2 separate regions of the Homo sapiens genome follow, and region 2 is linked to region 1. Evidence: promoter capture Hi-C in 16 types of primary human blood cells and fetal thymus (Javierre and others, 2016). All regions are on one chromosome and are shown on one strand. Each heading gives the region's core, a stretch centred on a gene start or on the middle of the fragment in contact. The rest is flanking DNA. Distances are from core to core; before and after follow the strand shown.

Region 1 (5,856 bases), core at 1,276-3,775:
TCTATTAAATCTAGCAACTGCACACTCTTCTGGTCTGTGTTTGTTATGGCTCGAGCTGAGCTTTCGCTCGCTTTTCACCACTGCTGTTTGCCACTGTCACAGACCCGCCACCGACTTCCACCCCTCCAGATCCGGCAGGGTGTCCGCTGCTTTGCTGATCCAGCGAGGCACCCATTGCCACTCCCGATCCGGCTAAAGGCTTGCCATTGTTCCTGCATGGCTAAGTGCCCGGGTTCGTCCTATTTGAGCTGAACACTAGTAGCTGGGTTCCACGGTTCTCTTCTGTGACCCACGGCTTCTAATAGAGCTATAACACTCACCGCATGGTCCAAGGTTCCATTCCTTGGAATCCATGAGGCCAAGAACCCCAGTTCAGAGAACAAAAGGCTTGCTGCCATCCTGGGAGCGGTGGCCACCATCTTGGGAGCTCTAAGAACAAAGACCTGCCCATAAGAATTAGAGATATAGAAAATGAAGAACACAATGCAATATCAGCACACCTCTATTTGGCCAAAATTGGTAAAACTGACAATACCTGGCGAGGATGCGGGGCAACTAGAACTCATACATCACTGTTGAGAATGTGAAATGGCACAGACCCTTTGCAAATTAGTATGTCAATTTCTTGCAAATTTAAACATGCACTGACTAAATGGCCCAGCAATCTCACTCCTAGGTATTTACTCAGGTGAAATGAAAATTTCTATTCACCCGAAAAAACATTTGTTGAATAAATTAATGAATGAATAATAAACGAATGGAGCTATCATAATGTAAAATGACTAGATAATATCTAAAATTGCTGAAACAAAAAAAAATATAAGCCTATTTTTGGAAAAAGGAAGTAACTACCACAAGGAATAGTTAGAAGAGTTAAGAGACTGACTCTTTAAGCACAGGACAGATGGTCAGGAATGGTTAAAAGGGCCTGCTGCTTTTCATTGACCTTCCAGTACTATTGATTTTTTTTAACTACGTGAATATATTACTTTCATAAAAATGTAAAAAGAAAAAGAGGAGTCAGAGAAAGAAAATGAATTGTCAGAAAAATTTAGAAGTTTTATCAACTGAAATGCAGAAAAGATAAATTGTGCTTGCATTTCATTTTTGTTGTTCATTCCAAACATTTATGGATTAGACTAGCTGAAATGAAGTAATTAAGAGACTCAATAGAAAACATTGCCAAGAATAAAAAATAATTTGAGGAAACCATGAAAAGTTTACAGGTTACTCTGTCACAAAATACTTTGTTAATTCACTACCCCGCAGCAACACACATCACCAAGGCTGGCTTCTGGAATGCTTTCTACTTGTAGCCATTTTTGAACAATAGGTGATTCCGCTTTTAACAACACTGTTAGAATATAATGTAGCGAGTTTTACCAGAGATGTTTAAGACTACCTGGCACAAGTAAATTTCATTGTATACATGTATATACACGAGGGAGGGTGATCATAGTCTAGAAAAAAACAGGTCTTCAGAAGTCTAGAACTTTAATAACCTTAAATCCAAATTATTCCCTGCGTCCATCCATAATGAGAAGGAAGAAATCTACACTTGCATTTCTTCCACCTTTCACATCTTTCTCATTTAAATCCTACTGTACTTGATTTGTGTTGTTCCCAACGTACTAGGTGCTATGCATGACGTAGAAACGTGTTTCCTTATATGTATGTACTAGCAGGCTCCTTCAAGCACATGCCTAAGGTTGAAAGATTCAAATATAATTATAGCCTCTTAAATTATTGCGTCAGAGCCCGCCCTATCCCCTCAGAAAAAGCCCCCTTTTACACCATCAAATGAAATATCAGGTTATTTGCACTGGATATTTTTTAAAAGAAAATATTTGATTTTAAAATCAAAGAGTTCTTGGTTTTCCATCATTTCACTAATTGTCTTACTAGAGACCCGAGTCTCCTTTGTCAAAATATATTTCAGTACGCATTTTAAAAAATATGTGTGTGTGTATACTTAAATATATATATATATAAAGTCTTGGACTTATTTTCACCTAGCCTGGGGCATATCGTGGATAGTTTCAATCGACAAAACAGGCACTCTCTGGCCTAGGAGTGGAATCCATCCTCAATTTTCGCAGGCTCCTCACAATTCTCTATTTGGAAGAAGTGTCCCTCTCCTTCCCTTTTCTTTTCCTCCTTTACTCAGCGTCAGTCCCCGCAGCCATCTCCTCCGACCCTTTTTGTCTACGTCCCAGCGTCGCGAACCACAGCGGCGGAGGTGGAGCGGGGAGAGGCGTTAGGCCGGGCGGCTAAAACGCGCCGTTAAAGTGGGGGAGAGATTGCGCGGAGCCCACGCGATCCCTGGGACGCCGGAGACAACGGGGCTCTTGGGAAGGCGCGGAGCCCGGGGAAGCCGGGGATGTGCGCGTGAGCCGTGCCCGCAGGGTCTCCCCGCCTCCGCCACCTTTCTTGGGTGGCTCTCCGCCTCGTCCTCCCTCCGAGGGCCGTTGGTACATTCCTAGTGACTCCAAGCGCTTAAAAGGGGCCCGGGAGGATGAACCCCACAGATCTGAACCTGATTTGTGTGTGCACCGCGTCTCCAGCGATCCCGGATCCACTGCGCTGCCAGGGGCCTGGGGGTGGGTCTCTTGCTGTCTCTGCGACGACATCCTTACGTTTCGGCACTCTAATGCTGGGTTTGTGCGTGTGTGTCTGCTTAGCGGTCTAGCGGGCTGTTAGGCTCCCTCGCCCCCAGCTCCTTGGCTCGCTCAGCTCCTCCACCGCAGCCCAGCAGTGAGACGCGCGCGCAGCCAGCTCCCCACGAGATGGAACAGACCGAAGTGCTGAAGCCACGGACCCTGGCTGATCTGATCCGCATCCTGCACCAGCTCTTTGCCGGCGATGAGGTCAATGTAGAGGAGGTGCAGGCCATCATGGAAGCCTACGAGAGCGACCCCACCGAGTGGGCAATGTACGCCAAGTTCGACCAGTACAGGTGAGCGCGCTGCAGCTTCAATGCCAGGCGGCGCCCACTCGCCCCGTCTGAGGAGGAATGGACGTGGGGGACGCAGCCCAAAGTGACTGGCTCGGGAAGCTCGGGCCGCGCTGCGTCCGCCGCTCGCCCCCTCGCTGGCCAGCCGCGGGGCTGGCACGACTCGCTTGGGGCTCCGCGGCCACAGCGCAGGCGGAAGGTGGATCCTACTGGCCTTGCTGACCTCCGGCCGGGAACGGCGGACAGGCGCCGGGAAGGGAGGCCACCGCGCGTCTGCGAGATTTTCTGTTCTCTTCTCTCCCGCAAACCCCTCTGCTTCTAAACCACCAGTCCTCCTGCCCCTGGCCTCGGGAGCAATGCCCACACTCCCAAGCCATCGTTAACCCCGGGCGCGGAGATGCGGAGAGACCGCACTCAGGTTCGGGCCCTCCTGACACCTTAAGGAACCGTCTGGCCGGACTAGCAGAGGGTGCTCCCAGGGGAGCACTACATCAGCCATCGGGAGAAGTGTGTGATGTTGAAGAAGACAAGTCACCCGCGTCAGTTCTCCATCACTGCGCCTTCGGTCGCCTGCAACCGGGCACCTTATAGCAAGCATTTTTACTCATGTAAAATAGCGTCTTGTGGCCGTCAGCTGCCACTACGGAATTTCTGCTGTTCCCTTTCCCAAACCAATTTAACTAACTTCCCCGACTGTGGGTTTATTCAAATCCACTGCCAAGTTTCGCAGATTAAATATTCGACCGTCGTTTTTTTCAGCCCCCAAATGATCTGATTTATCTTATCCTTGCTTCTGACGATCTGTAATGTAAATTAAAGACCCCTACTTCCCAGATGTACTTGAGTGAGGTGCCCTGGTAAGCTGGCTTTTTTGCAGCCCCGGCTTGGTGATTAAGTCGAATCTCTCTACCAATCCTCCGGGGCCAGAGGTAAAATTTAATCACCCCGAAGTGTGAGAGGTTCTACTTTTTCTGAGCAGTTAGTGCGTCAGTCTTTGTGGTTTTTTGGGTTTAGGGTTAGGAGAAAGGGGTAAGTGAAAGAAAAGAATAAGGAAAGAAGTAAGTTTGTTTTTCTTGGGAGCAGGTTCTTTTAGTCACTCTTCAACATGTGGGATGTTTCGTAAAGTTTTGTTGGCATGGGCGGTTTCAACTGTATTTTAGGATTTGAAATAGAAAAAGTGAAGACCACTAAGGATCCCATTTTTCATATACAAGTGACTTGAGGAAATTCCTTTGGCTCCTATCAGCTTAGTTCATGGTAGAGCCCTTCTGTAGCCGTGAAAGCTAGCAGAGAGTCTAGCTTTTAAATTTTCTTGCATTTGCTCCAGGTAATTGAAGACTTGTTATGGGACAGGTACTCTTCCAGACACTTGACACATATGAGGAATGGCAGGCAATGAAGAAGTTGAATGACTTGCACTAGGTCTTCTATCGATAGCGGCTCCAGGCTCCCGGGGTTAGCATTGTTGTTCCAGAGCCTACACTCTAAACCACTGTTAAACCAGGACAGGTTGTAACAGTTTTTAATCTTTAATCTTTAGAACAAGTGTATTTTCAAGGACCTTGAACTAGTCTCGATTGACAAACTCTAAAGCTTTTGAAGTGCAACCAGCTGGGTTGATCGGTCTTTTCACAGATATCTGAGGTACAGCTCATTAACATAATGGATGTAGTCCCGAGGGGGCAGTTGGGGGAAGACAGGAGATGGGAGAGAAGTCAATTCTACAGTATTTTTTGCATTAAATAGGTGCCTAGCGCTGTGAAGGATTCTGTTCTCTGACTTTGGGAGGGCCAGTGCAGAAGAATCAAGACAGAATATGCTCCCGTGTGGGCCAGGCTGTGAATTCTTTGAAAGAAGCTGCAGAGAAGCAACAAAGATTATCCTAAGACTTCTGGAGGAAGAATTAGGATCCTTCTGCAGGAACTCAGTTTACTGTGAATTGAAGGTTGTGTACACAGCTTCTTGTTAGGTCATAAAGGCTACAAAGTAGGGAAAACTGAGGCTAAAAAGCACTTACTAAGTAACTCCCTCTAGGATCATGCTCTTCGGACACCTCGGGGTGGGGAGGAATGGGACAGGATGGAAGGGGCATGCTGGACAAGAGTTAACCGATGACGAAGGGAAAAAAAACTCCCAAAAAATGGAGTAAAGACCCCTTTTCTTTAACATGACAGTCTAAATGAATGTCATAATTATGAAACTTTGCTAACTAGATGCTGTCAACAGTACACCTTGGACCAATAGAAACTTTGACGTTGATTTTGCTTTTTTCACAGTCGTGGTCGTGGTTTGCAGTTTGTTGTTGGTGGTGGCAGTGGTGGTGGTTGGTTGTGGTGAGTGTGTCTGTGTGTATGTGTTTGCCAGTTACTGGTTTCTCCTAATTGTAAGAGGTTTAGAGGGTTCTTTACTTCACTAATGTAGTCTTCTTTGTTCTGGTAGTTAGATCAGCCCCCACGGTATTTGTGGAAGACTTTTCATTATAAGGGCTTTTGAATGTGGTTTGTGTCTAGGCTTTAGTAAAACTAAGAATTCTAGAACAGCTATTTAATGAAACCTTGTTTCTCAAGTCTTGATTTAGCTACAGGCAGAAAAAAGAAAAAAAAAAAAACAATAGCAACATTCTTGCCTCAACCAGTAATGCACTTTGGAAATACTTTCTCTGAGAAACTTACTCCATCAGTTTGAGGCTGTCACATTGAGAAACATGCAATTTCGGTTTTTTTCCTGTTATTTTTCCCGTGCCATTAATTAAAACTGAGCAGCTACCTCTGTAAATGCAGCGGTTCAAAATGAACTGTGAAAAAGGATTTTTCATTTGTGTTGGATTTCTAATTAGAAAACTGCATTCAAAGTTGCTTAGAGGTGGAAATGTTAACATTTGTGAATAAATGGTACTTGGTGAC
Region 2 (5,856 bases), core at 2,412-4,911, 210 kb after region 1:
TTGTGTCTTATTTAAAAAATACTTCCCTCTCCTTAGGTCATGAATATCTTCTGTACTGTGTTCTAAAATATGTGTAGTTTTGTCTTCCACTCAAATTGAATTTTGTTTTGTGGGTGAGGTAGGTATCCAGGTTCTTTTTTTTTCCCTTGTTTCTTGAAAAGTCATCTTTCTCATTTGGTTGAACATGCCATTTCTGTCATCTGTGAAATGCTCATATTTACATGAGTCTATTTCTGGGCTCTCTTTTATTCCATTGATCAATTTGCCCATATATCAGTAACACACTGTCTTAACTACTAAAGCTTTTAAAAGTCTTGATATTTGGTAAAATAAGTCTTTTTATACCTTGTTCTTCAAGATTTTGGCTGTGATCAGTTCTTTGCACTTTTATACAAATTTTAGAATTTCAACAAAACAAAATTGTTAGGATTTTGATTGGGATTGTATTGTATCTGTGAACAAATTCTTTATAGTAGTGCATTTTTTGGTGAGTTAATGTTGTCTTTCCATTGTATCTTTGAATAAAGTCTTAAAATTTTCTTCATAGAAATACTGCATACATATATTTTGTTAATCTTATATCTTTTTGTTTTTGATGCTATCATAAATGATATCTTTTAAGTTTTTAATTTTTTGTTCGTATGTGGGGATACTTTTTAAATTGATTTTTCTATTCAACCTTGCAAAAATCTTTTTTAAAGTTTAGTAATTTATCTGTAGATTCTTTTGGACTTTCTATAAGTAATGACAAATTTGTCTTTCTATTGTCCTTTTCTTTTTCTTGCCTAATTAAATTTGCAGGGACCTCCAGTATAATGTTGAATAGGTCATGTGTAGGCATTCTTGTTTTGTTCCTGTTCTCTGGGAATGCTTTCAAAGTATTCTCTAAGCATTTTATGATACTTTTATTAAATTTAGAAATTTCCCACCTATTCTTATTTGCTAAGAGTTTTTTATAATCATAAATGATATAAAATTTTGAATTTTCAAAAAGCTCTATTGAGAAAAATCATGATTTTTCTGCCTTTATTCTCTGAATGTAGTCAGTTACATGAACTGGATTCCTATTATTAAGCCAACCTTCTCTTCCTAGGGTAAAAAAAACCTGGCCACGATGTGGTTTGACTGCTTTTAATAGCTGGATTTGTTTTAAGATTTTTGCTTAATATCAAGGCTGTTTTAGCCTTATAAAGTGATTTGGAAACTGGCTTTCTTTTCTTGTTTTCTGGGAGAGCTTGTATATAACATTTACATTACTTCTTCCTTGAATGTTTATTAGAAATCATAGGTGAAGTGTGTTTGGGGCCTGGTGTCTTCTTTATGGGATGCTGATTCAATTTCTTTTTATTAATAAGGTTCAGCTTTTCTGTTGTGTAATATTGGTAGATTGCATATTCCTATGTATCTTTCCATTACGTCTACACTTTCAAATTTGTTAGCACTGTGTTTTTCCTGTACACTTAACATGTGCCAGATCTGTAAGGATGGTACCCTTTGTATTGCTTATATTGCATCTGAGATTGTTTGTATCTTTTTTCCTTGACTAGTCTTGCTAGAGGTTTATCATATTTATTGTTTTTGCTTTACAAAGAAGCCAATATTTTTGTTTTTCTTCTTTGTTATATTTTCTCTATTTTGTTGATTTCAGCTTTTTCTTTTCTATGTTAATATGTCATATTATTGTAGTGGATGGTTAGCTCTTCAAATTTTCAACTTTCTATTCTGATTTACATATTTAAAGCTATAGATTTCCATGATAATGCTACTTTATCTCTTGCGTTAGTTTTCTATGCTGGGTAACAAATTACCACAGGTTTACTGGTTTATAACAGCATAATTTTATTATCTCACAATTTCTTGGGGTTAAGAGTTTCAGCATGGCTTAACTGGGTCCTCTGTTTAGGGTCTCACAAGGCTGCAGTGAAGTCAGCTGAACTGCATTGTCATCTGGAGCTCACAGTTCTCTTCTAAATTAATCAGATTGTTGATAAAACTTAGTTCCTTGAAGCTGTAGAACTGAGGTCCTCAGCTACTTAGGGCTGCTCTTTTATATAAGCAGTGTAACGTGACATGCCTTTTTAAGGTCAGCAGAACTTCTGACTAGAATCTGTTTCAGAGAAGGCCAGAAAGAGTTCACTTGGTTAGGTCAGAGTCACCTGGGATAGTCTCCCTTTTGATTAAGTCAGAGTCAACTAAATAGGCACCTTAATTGCATCTGCAAAATCCTTTCACTTTTGCCATATTCTCTTACTAAATGTAACAGGCGTTGTCCACACAAAGGTATGGATATGGGGCTTGGAAAGGATTTCAGGAACCATCTTAGAATTCTGCCTACTACTAACTCCATTCTACAAGTCTCAATATCTAGCATTTTAGTTATTCACTAACTGCAAAGTTTTTTATTTCATTATCATTACTACTTTGATCCATAGATACTATTTGGAACTATAATTTCCAAACATGAATATTTAAGTTTTCCTTTATTGTTGATTTTTAACATAATTGAATTGTGATCAGATGATATATTCTCTATATGATTTAAATTCTTTGAAATGTGTTAACAGTTGCTTTATGACATAATAAGTGGCTGGTTTTTATAAATTTTAGGATGCTTGAAAAGAGTTCTACAGTTATTTATGTTCATTAATCATTTTAGTCATGTTCATTAATTTTCAAGTCTTCAGTATCCTTAGTGATGATTTTTTTGTTTTTGGTATATATCTCTTGATTACTAAGAGAATTGTGTTAAAATGTAGCTAGCATGATTTTAGATGTGTTTGTGTGATTCTTTCAATTTCTCTCTTTTTCTATTTTGTATTGGGATACAAATGTATAATTGTTATATTTTCCAGGTTAATTGAAAGAAGCTTTATCATTACAAAATTATCTTTATTTCCACTAATAAATTTTGCCTTAAAATTAATTTTATTTGATATTAATGTAGCTATACCAGCTTTCGTTTGGCTAGCACTTGTGTCGTATATCATTTTCCACAGTTTTACTTTCAGTCTTTGTGTATATTTAGTTTTTAGAGGTGTCTCGTTTATATCATATTGTTGTTACTATTAGTATGTGTCCTATCTGTTCTATGTTCCTTTTTTTCTACTTTTTTTTTGATAGTTTTGTTTTTGTTACTCCTTTTTTTCTTCTACCTATCAGATGGGATGTTGTATATATTTCTGTTCATGGTTGTTCTAGAAATTTCATTATGCATCTCTGACTTATCAACGCCTAAACTCGCCCAGACTTCTGCGCAGTGCAGTAGCCTTAGAACACTTTAATCCCATTTACTTTCCTCCCAGCTTATATATGTGGTTGTCACATATGTTGTATCTCTTTAAATGTAAGTTATTACTGTTGTTTTATATAGTTAATATTGACTTAGATTTACCCACAAATTTGCCACCTTTCTTACTCTCCATTCCTTGCTGTGTCTTTGAGCTTCCATCTGGAGTAATTTTTCTTTTGCCTGAGTATATGTTTAGAATTTACTTTAGTGCAGGTCACCTGGTGGCACATTTACTTTGCTCTTGTTTTTTGAAATGTCGTTATTTTGCCTTCTTTTTGAAGGACTTTTTTTTTCTCCCTTGAAATGGATGGTTATCTGGAAAGGTAAAGATAACTTTCCCTTGTATTCTGACTTCCACTGTTACTGGGAAGAAGTCACCTGTCAGTCTTTTGCTCCATTTAGACTAATCCATTTTTTTTTCCTCTGGCTGCTTTCACGATTTTCTCTTTGTAATTATAATTTTTTTTTTTTGAGTTTCATTGTGTTGTATATACGTGAGGATTTTATTGTATTTTCCCACTTAGGCTTTGTTTGGCATCTTAGATCTGTGGGTTGATACATCAGTTCTGGAAAATTCTCAACCATCATTGATTTGTTCAAATTTTGTTTAGAATCTTACATCTATATCCATGAGCGATGTTGGTCTTTAGTTTTCTGTTTTTGTAATGTCTTTTGTCTGATTAGTATGATACTAATGCTGGCTTAATAGAATGATTTCAGAAGTATTCCCTCCTTTTGAATTTTTTTGAAGAGTATGTGTAGGATTGGTATCATTTCTTCCTTAAATGTTTTGGTAGAGTTCACCATTGAAGTCACCTGGACATGAAGTTTTCTTTTTCGGAACATTTTTCACTACACCTTAATTTCTTTGATAGATTTAGGGCTTTTAAAATAATCTGTTTCATCTTGACTGTTTGGCTTTTAAGGATTTTTTCCATTTCATATAAATTGTTGAATTTGCTGGCATAAAGTTGTTCATAATCTTTCCTTAGTAACCTTTTAATAACTGGAATGTCATGTCCCTCTCTCATTTCTAATATTGGTAATTTGCATCTGCTCTCTTTTTTCTTGACTTATCTGGCTAGAAGTTTATTGATTTTGAACGTCCTAGTAAACCATCTTTTGGTTTTATTTCTGGGGGAATAAAGTACCATAATCAAGCTTAGTAATCCTTCTTCTTACCTTCCTCCAGGATTTTGACTAGATGGGATTCTTTGTCTAATGAAGTGACCTAAACCTTCATTTCTACAGAATTGAGCCGTTGATAGGCCTGTCTTTACTGGGTTGCTGCAGTTTTCCACTGACTAGGACTGTTAGCACTAAGAGGCATTCCAGTGAATTTCCTCGTTTCCATATATAGCCTATATAGCCTTCTTGTTTCCATTGTAAAACAGAAACACAGTTTTCCTCTGATAACTGGAATTAGCTACCCTGGCCAGTCCATTGAGCTGCTTTTCTGTTACTTTAATGGCATGAGGAACCTCAAAAGGCCAGGGCCAGTCTCGGCTCCTAAATCATCAAAACATGATTATTTTTCCTGAAGGAAGTGTTCTACTCTTGGACTCTAGAATTTCTAAACCCACCAAGCCCAACATTTTGGGAATGGGAAGCAAAAATTATTCACGTAGATTCTTAGGTATACTATTGAACAGAAACACTCCTTCTACCCTTTGGCTCTGAGACCTGTGCATCCTGATAGTGGGGAGACAGCTCCATATATTGACTGCTTATTAAATTAATGTACCACATTCTATAGGACACCACCCTACCTTTTCATGATGTTGCCTCCCAGATATCTCTGTAACCGAGCTCTCATTTTGCCACTCAGCTGTTCTATCAAGCTAGTTACTTTAGGAGATAAGCATGTGTTAAAACCATTGAATTCACTTCCATTGCCATAAACTGTGTACCTGGTTGGAAGAAATGTTTTTGGGATTCCTATGCAATGGATAAAACCTTCAGAAATGTCAAGAATATTAGTGCCAGTGGAAACACTGCAGGCAGAGAATGCAGATTTATACCTTGAATGTGAATTATCTTTGTGAAGACAAAGTGCTACCTATTTCTTATGGAAATTGCCCAATGTAACCATCATGTTACCGGGTTGCCAGCAAGTCTCATTGACAGTAATGCCATATTAGGAACCCAGCCTTGGAAATGTAGTCACACTCCACGTTGTTGCCAGGTTGGGCATTCGGCAATGATAGTAGCCAAATAATGTAGGTAAGGAGAAGACCATACTATTGAACCTCTGTCACTGCTTTGATAGCCACTTGGTACATGGGCCCATTAACCAAGCCCTGGGTTGGCTGGAGAAAAAGACTGACATCTACCAGACAATTCATCTTGTTCCGCTTATTATTGAAAATCTTCTCCACCTGATGCATCCTGTTAGGCACTTATGGGGGATATGAATATCTTCACATGCCCTCACCACTCCAAGAGGGTTATCTGTAAGTCTCACGGACAGATCTTTTACAAATTTTCCATTTTGTTCTTTCCAAGAACCTAAAAGCTGGACAATCCATTAGACACTGCCTGTAAGTCAGTATATTTATCAGTTTGTC

The links. The method cuts DNA at HindIII sites, captures the fragments that hold promoters and counts their contacts. A CHiCAGO score of 5 or more calls a contact.
Region 2: a fragment that was not itself captured here is called in contact with the fragment with the promoter of CDO1 in region 1 in 4 of 17 cell types (total CD8 T cells, naive CD8 T cells, non-activated CD4 T cells and 1 more); the score reaches 5.8 in total CD8 T cells.

What each region holds. Positions count from the first base shown.
Region 1 is chr5:115,813,328-115,819,183 of GRCh38, reverse strand. It overlaps CDO1 (cysteine dioxygenase type 1), which reads left to right and starts at 2,525. Exons shown (of 5, transcript NM_001801.3): 1 at 2,525-2,956. The coding sequence starts at 2,787. LOC124901049 (a long non-coding RNA gene) reads right to left here and starts at 2,096. Exons shown (of 2, transcript XR_007058908.1): 1 at 2,013-2,096. The HindIII fragment of the contact is 6,274 bases long and covers 1-4,548 here.
Region 2 is chr5:115,604,383-115,610,238 of GRCh38, reverse strand. All of the region lies in intron 3 of TMED7-TICAM2 (TMED7-TICAM2 readthrough), which reads left to right. The region is part of intron 2 of TICAM2-AS1 (TICAM2 antisense RNA 1); the gene reads right to left. Among named protein-coding and RNA genes, the nearest start is that of TICAM2, 4.8 kb to the right of the region's middle. The HindIII fragment of the contact is 1,583 bases long and covers 2,870-4,452 here.